Regions from separate parts of the Homo sapiens genome. Here region 1 is linked to region 2. Evidence: promoter capture Hi-C in 16 types of primary human blood cells and fetal thymus (Javierre and others, 2016). All regions are on one chromosome and are shown on one strand. Each heading gives the region's core, a stretch centred on a gene start or on the middle of the fragment in contact. The rest is flanking DNA. Distances are from core to core; before and after follow the strand shown.

The links. Contacts are between HindIII fragments. The CHiCAGO score rates a contact against its expected background, and 5 or more counts as called.
Region 1: a contact is called between a fragment that was not itself captured here and the fragment with the promoter of ARSJ in region 2, in 1 of 17 cell types (M2 macrophages). The highest score is 6.5, in M2 macrophages.

The regions. Positions count from the first base shown.
Region 1 is chr4:113,312,483-113,316,167 of GRCh38, reverse strand. The region is part of intron 24 of ANK2 (ankyrin 2); the gene reads right to left. Among named protein-coding and RNA genes, the nearest start is that of MIR8082, 160 kb to the right of the region's middle. The HindIII fragment of the contact is 964 bases long and covers 1,920-2,883 here.
Region 2 is chr4:113,977,308-113,981,075 of GRCh38, reverse strand. ARSJ (arylsulfatase family member J) reads left to right here and starts at 1,429. Exons shown (of 2, transcript NM_024590.4): 1 at 1,429-2,639. The coding sequence starts at 2,242. LOC107986305 (a long non-coding RNA gene) reads right to left here and starts at 1,263. Exons shown (of 2, transcript XR_001741794.2): 1 at 1,090-1,263; 2 at 1-706. It overlaps LOC124900762 (a long non-coding RNA gene), which reads left to right. Exons shown (of 3, transcript XR_007058237.1): 3 at 112-181. The HindIII fragment of the contact is 10,512 bases long and covers 1-3,768 here.

The DNA.
Region 1 (3,685 bases), core at 1,152-3,651, 670 kb after region 2:
CTTGACAGAGCCTTAGTAATTTCATCAACAAGAGTTTTAGCTCCAGCAATTGGAGGCTACTTATATTACAGATGGTTTTACATTTAGCTTTTGATAGGGGATTAGATTATTGGGAAAAGGGTTAATCTCAGCAAAAGCTTGTCTCAGCTGGTGGAATGGATAATTTGTTTTCCTGCTGTAAATCACAAAGATAGCTAAGATCCACTTGGATGTGTTTTGTACCAGGTGGCACGAGATCAGCAATTCTTTTTTTTTTTTTTTTTTTTTTTTTGAGACGGAGTCTCGCTCTGTCACCCAGGCTGGAGTGCAGTGGCGCGATCGTGGCTCAGTGCAAGCTCCGCCTCCCAGGTTCACCATTCTCCTGCCTCAGCCTCCCGAGTAGCTGGGACTACAGGCGCCTGCCACCACGCCTGGCTAATTTTTTTGTATTTTTAGTAGAGACAGGGTTTCACCGTGTTAGCCAGGATGGTCTCGATCTCCTGACCTCGTGATCCGCCCACCTTGGCCTCCCAAAGTGCTGGGATTACAGGCGTGAGCCACTATGCCCGGGCTAGATCAGCAACTCTTAAATTCTATTCACCTTTATTTTGTTTTGAATTTGGCTAAGGAAGGGAAAATAGTAGAGGAGCCAACCTCTTCTGTTTCTAATACAGCTGTTCTATGGGCTCAACCGTCTTCTGGAATAGCAGAAACACCGGTCTCAAAGGGAAAATGAAAATTTAGCTTGAATGAGAACAAACTGAATGGTAAATAATGGTACCTCAAATAAAACCTTGTGACGTGGCTGCCAGATTGCAAAGGTCTAAACTTTGAAAGAATCAATCAGGTCTCAATTGCCACTCTCAAGGAGTGACTATGGCTAAGTAGACAAGTCTGTCTATTTCAGGAATGTGGTATTAAAGAGCCCATTGGGCTATGAAAGTAAAGTCGCACTTTGCAATCGGTATATCAGTCATACAAGTGAAATTTTGATATCCATTTAGTTGATACCTGAGTCTATCTCTCAATTGGTTTTGTACTGAGAGGAATAGAGAGGTGTTGGTGTTTTTTGTCTTTCCTAAAACCCCAACAGGAAAGAAATACAGAGGGATAAGAAAAGAAAGAAGGAGACAAAGTGATATATAATCACAAAAAATTGATTAGAGTAGAGAGAGAAAGATATTAGGATATGTACACAGAGAGTGAGAAAAGTTGGACAGAGAGAGGGAGCAACAATGAATAAGTCAAAACCATATATAGGAGTGTCTCTACCTTTCTATGGGTTGTATTCTAGCCTCCTCTACTTACTTACTGCCTTCTGAAATACTAATTGGTTGTTTAATCAATGTGTATCATTTCTAACTGCTTTTTTAAAAATGATGTCGTATAATCTACTTAAATGAAATAAAGATGGACTATTCCAACACCAGAGAAGTTATTCGCTCTAAAAGAATATTCCCTCTAAAATAATAATAACTAAAGAATTATTCTCACTAAAATAATATAACCAGCATGACAAAGGTCTGGAATAATTTAAGCCCTTGGATCAGAAATTGTTCACTCTGATTTAAGACATTAAAAACAAGTTTAAATATTTTCCAATACAGTTGCCAATTTTTCATGAAGTCAATGGTTCTGCTATTCAGTTAATAAATGTATAATAACATAGCCATAGAAGTGTAAAGTTTTACTTGCTGTTCATCTAGGGGATGTACTAGGGGTTTTGTTATGGTCTTAGTTTATATTTTTTATTTTACTACGGTACAACTGCTTTATGGACACATAATAGGTGGTATGAAAGTGTAATTTTATTGAAAAGTATAATAATTACTATCTTGGTAAACTGTAATATTTATTAAACATTCAATTAATGGAGTGGCAAACTTAACGAGTAGAAATCCACAATTTTCAATAAATTTGCTTTAAGATATGAAGAAGCTTCTGTGGTTCATTATTATTTAGTATTTTACATTGAATTTGGAAAGCATTTTTAATTTGTAAGCTACAATAAAATAAAACAGATGCAAAATCCAACTAATCATAACTTGGTTGTATTTGTATTTAATGTACATTAAATTGTATGTATTTGTATTCTTCCATATCTATGCATATTTTAGGCATCAGAATATTTTTTCTATCTTCTCCAACTACACATAGGCTAATTGGGGTTGTTTGGGGAAAGCCATGCTAATGTGTTATCAACCACAGGTGCAGCAGTGATTGTTGAAACAAAGCAATACCTGGGTCATGTCACAGATTTACATTTTAATAATATATTCACCTCTTCTAGCTCAGCTAGTTATTCAGTTCAATACATAAAAATATTTATTTTAGAATAAATCCATAATTCTAGAATATAAGCACCCCCTCCCACTCCCCCACCGCTCCCCCTCACCCCCCGCCCCGGCAACACACACACGCAGGTTTAGCAGTGAGCAGGGAAATGTGGATAAATCTAGGAAGGGCTTGTTTCCATGCTCTGTTAATACCTACCTGGGCATGGTGCTAGTGAAAGCAATTCAGATAAAGAAATAATGCAAAGGAAAAAATGGTCACTGAGAAAAGGTAACTTATATTGAATTGCCTAAGCAAAATTAAAAATAAAAGAAGACCATGAAAATGAGATGCTGTCTGTCACTCTATTTTGGAAATGGTGAATACATCTAGTGATCTAGAAATGCAAGTGGAGACCTGGAGAACACAGTATGTCTTGTTTGTTTCATGTCCCCTGACCTTATGTGCTGAAAAGTATTGGATTTAAGCAGGAGCATTCAAGCCATCCATCCTGTTTTATAGAAAGTATTATTCTAAATTCTTCCTCAACCTAAGTACTTTGAAAGAAGAAAAACAGATCAAATCAAGTACTTATTCTTAATAAGGGAGACCATGCAAAAAATAGAAGCTTTATGGTTGACAGTAATAAGACTGTTCATAGATTATCATCAATTTGTGCAATGCCATGAACATTACACTTTATTCAAATTTGAAATCTTTTAAGAATCTCAGAGTATAAGGTCCAAATCTACCAATGTATCAAGACAGCTTATGGAACTCCAGAGGGGCTCCTCCTTCTGGGAGCACCCTTTATCTAAGTTATTGAAGCCAAGGACTCAATTTAATCTCCTTCCCCTTCCTCACCTAAATCATGAAATTCATCATGAAATCTGACTAGTTTTGCCTCCTACACATGTCTCAAAAAACTCTCAAATTTTTTATTTCTGAAATTCTCTCCATGACTATCACCAAGGTTAGAGTGCTAGTCCTCTCATGACACCTGCAGTTAATACACGAACAATTGCTTCTCAGAGTGGCTGCAATCTCCAGGTTTAGCCCTTTGAAACTCTCCTTTAAAATTCATCCTCTTTCTCACTGGCAGAAGGATCCCCCTGCTATGCAAATATAATTCCCGTCCTCCACACTTACACTCCAGCAACACTGCATTCCCTTTTTTCTCATACACCCTGCGAGCCTTTGCTCAAGACCTTGTTAAGGCTTCAAATGCCCTCCCCACTTTTCCTCACCATTGTTACTCATTATTTGGTCTCAGTTTGGTTTCATCTGCTCCAGGAAGCTAGAGCCTCAGGGCTTCAGTGGCACTCTATGTGTACCACTAGCTTATGCCCTCTCCCATCCCATTAGACTATGAAGTTAACAAGCCTATCTTGCTAAAGAAAAAAAAAAAGATAGTGGAAGGGGGCATTGGTGC
Region 2 (3,768 bases), core at 180-2,679:
TTCAATCCCCTGACACTCAGTACTCTCATTACATATTTGGTGACTTAATTTACAGAATTGCTAAACTCACATTTCTGAACATGGCTTCTAAAACTGACTATCTCTCCCCAGCTTAGCCAGAAGGGCTGCAAGGAAGAACAGAGACCAGAAGGCCTACAGCAGCTAGCAAGGTTAACTTCATGGAGCACCATCGTGCCTTTCAAAGTTCCCATTTCACAAAGTTTTGCCTGGGAACTCAGCAGGAACTTTAGCAACAGGAGAGAATTAGAAATAAATGGCTAAATGAAACCTAGATTTATGTTTCAGTCAATTGAGAGAATCTGACATGTTATGTGCCAGCCCACAGTAGGTATTCAGTAAGTAACTGTTGAATAAATTTGGTGGTAGAAAAAAATATCTCAGTGGCTCTTGGCATTCATTGCCTCTTCTATAGAGACTATACTATACATCCCTCTGCTGCCTTTGAGCAGGACTTTAAAACTCTATGACTCTAGTAAAATCAAGAGTATTTTCACAACCAAGATAAGTTTTTACAATGGTTTTCCTCCACATGGTAAAAAAGAAAGAAGGAAAAAAAATGATGAAGCTCCCTGAATTACTGGATGGGAAACACTGGCTTCTTTAATGCAGGAATGCAGACTGGCTTCGGGGTTCTTGAAGGAGAAATGCATAACTCTTCCTCTCCAGGCTTTTGGCTGGAGACACCCTGTGGGTAAGTTAGGGGAGAGGTAAGAGGGAGCGGGCAATTCCAGTATTTTCACATAGGGAAAGGGTAACGAAGAATCAGGCTGTAAAAGCCAGCTATTGGGAGAGGAAATAAAACTTAAAAATTTGTCATCGTTACTGAAAAAAAAAAAAAAAAAGGTAGGGACAAAAGGAATAGGAAAATGATGGGGGTGGGGGGACTAGTAAAGGAAAACCTGCAAAGGAAGTTGGAAAGAGGAAAGAGTGTCATACGCATTTTGTTTTTATTCCTGCTCCTTCTCTCTCACTCCCTCCAGAAGCTAGAAAAAGTTTGCAAGCGCAACTTTAGGGATGGGAGACGGGGCTCTTCACCAACAGCCCCACGAAAAGAAGTGCCCGCTTTACCCTTCCCCATTCGCGCCGCCGTCCTTTCCCTCTAGCGGGGTGATGGGCAGGAGGCGACACTCTTGGGACGCGGTAGCCCAGGCGGATCCCCCGGAATCCCGCTGGGCTGGAGCAGCACGCAGCTCTCTCTCTGGCAAAGCCTCCTCTGCCTTGGCCATCCACCTCCCGGAAAAGAAAAAGGAAAGATCGAGCCTCTAAACAGTCCTTTTCCCCCACCCCCTCTTCCCGGGGGAGCTCAGGAAGAAAGTACCGTTCTGTGATTCACTGGAGAGAAAAGAGGGAGGAGGCAAAAGAACTCGGAGTGCCAAAGCTAAATAAGTTAGCTGAGAAAACGCACGCAGTTTGCAGCGCCTGCGCCGGGTGCGCCAACTACGCAAAGACCAAGCGGGCTCCGCGCGGACCGGCCGCGGGGCTAGGGACCCGGCTTTGGCCTTCAGGCTCCCTAGCAGCGGGGAAAAGGAATTGCTGCCCGGAGTTTCTGCGGAGGTGGAGGGAGATCAGGAAACGGCTTCTTCCTCACTTCGCCGCCTGGTGAGTGTCGGGGAGATTGGCAAACGCCTAGGAAAGGACTGGGGAAAATAGCCCTGGGAAAGTGGAGAAGGTGATCAGGAGGCCGGTCCACTACGGCAGTTTATCTGTCTGATCAGAGCCAGACGCGACGCGTCCACTTCGCAGTTCTTTCCAGGTGTGGGGACCGCAGGACAGACGGCCGATCCCGCCGCCCTCCGTACCAGCACTCCCAGGAGAGTCAGCCTCGCTCCCCAACGTCGAGGGCGCTCTGGCCACGAAAAGTTCCTGTCCACTGTGATTCTCAATTCCTTGCTTGGTTTTTTTCTCCAGAGAACTTTTGGGTGGAGATATTAACTTTTTTCTTTTTTTTTTCCTTGGTGGAAGCTGCTCTAGGGAGGGGGGAGGAGGAGGAGAAAGTGAAATGTGCTGGAGAAGAGCGAGCCCTCCTTGTTCTTCCGGAGTCCCATCCATTAAGCCATCACTTCTGGAAGATTAAAGTTGTCGGACATGGTGACAGCTGAGAGGAGAGGAGGATTTCTTGCCAGGTGGAGAGTCTTCACCGTCTGTTGGGTGCATGTGTGCGCCCGCAGCGGCGCGGGGCGCGTGGTTCTCCGCGTGGAGTCTCACCTGGGACCTGAGTGAATGGCTCCCAGGGGCTGTGCGGGGCATCCGCCTCCGCCTTCTCCACAGGCCTGTGTCTGTCCTGGAAAGATGCTAGCAATGGGGGCGCTGGCAGGATTCTGGATCCTCTGCCTCCTCACTTATGGTTACCTGTCCTGGGGCCAGGCCTTAGAAGAGGAGGAAGAAGGGGCCTTACTAGCTCAAGCTGGAGAGAAACTAGAGCCCAGCACAACTTCCACCTCCCAGCCCCATCTCATTTTCATCCTAGCGGATGATCAGGGATTTAGAGATGTGGGTTACCACGGATCTGAGATTAAAACACCTACTCTTGACAAGCTCGCTGCCGAAGGAGTTAAACTGGAGAACTACTATGTCCAGCCTATTTGCACACCATCCAGGAGTCAGTTTATTACTGGAAAGTAAGTGTTCCTACTTCTTATATTTATTCCTTGGAGAAATCTTAAGCATTTAATGAAGATCCAGCTCCAAATTTAAGGGAGTAACAGAAAGTATGGGGAACAACTGAATGAATGAAGAATGAATGAATGATGTATGGTATTGGGGTACCGTGTTAAAATGGATACAATGTTAATGATCTTAATTTTCTAGTCACTAGTGTAGTCTAGTTTTCCTTTTTACAGAGCCAATTATAAGTTTCTAAATGAGATGAGAACGTATAAATACCCACAAACCAGAGATTTCCAGAAATGGTCTCCTGTTTCAAATCTATTCTACTTTTGAGCATGCTCAGATTTTGTTTCAGATGTCATACTAGAATTCACACTCACCATCACTGATAAGAAAGATCAAAAATTTTTTTTACTCTTGGTGCATTCTTAAATCTAGAATTATCAGAGAAAATGAACCAACGAAACAGATATAGAGTAATGTAAAATATGACCAGTTTATGTATGACTCTGCTTCGGTCTTTGATGGGTCATTTTCTCTTATGAGACCCCCTAATGAAGGCCATATTTAATTAGCAAAGCAGTTCTCAAAATGCAAGGAAATACAATGGTAAGTGCTCAAGAGGAGTCAAACTTCATCTGCAGTTTTCTGTTGCTCTTCACAGGTCTGGAATTTTCTGACTAACCAACAGAAATCAGACTATTTGGATGCTTAAGTAAAGTGCTTTTCATATTGTTGCTGCTTTGCTAAGTAGCTAAATCTTCTACTTAAATTGTTCAAACATTTTCATATTTTTACTCTATCCTATCAGAACACAGGCTACTGTAATTGATTTGGATGTACAAATTCAGCCTGTGGAACGAAGATAAACTAGGAAGGGCAGGGGTTAAGCTGGACAGAGGTAGAAGAAAATCCTTAGCCATTTCAATCTATGTCTTGTGATTTCAGTTGCAGGACAGGGAACCCTTGCTTCTGTGAAGTTGTTCTTGGAATTGGATCCTATAAAAGTAGCCAGTATCCATTGGAAAAATAAAGACTATTTTGTAAGAATCTCTGTCTCGCAGAGACTTTTGCTTACAGCATGATTTCCACTGCTTAGCAAACTGTCAGAACTTAGCATCATTGCCAGAAAAGAAAAAA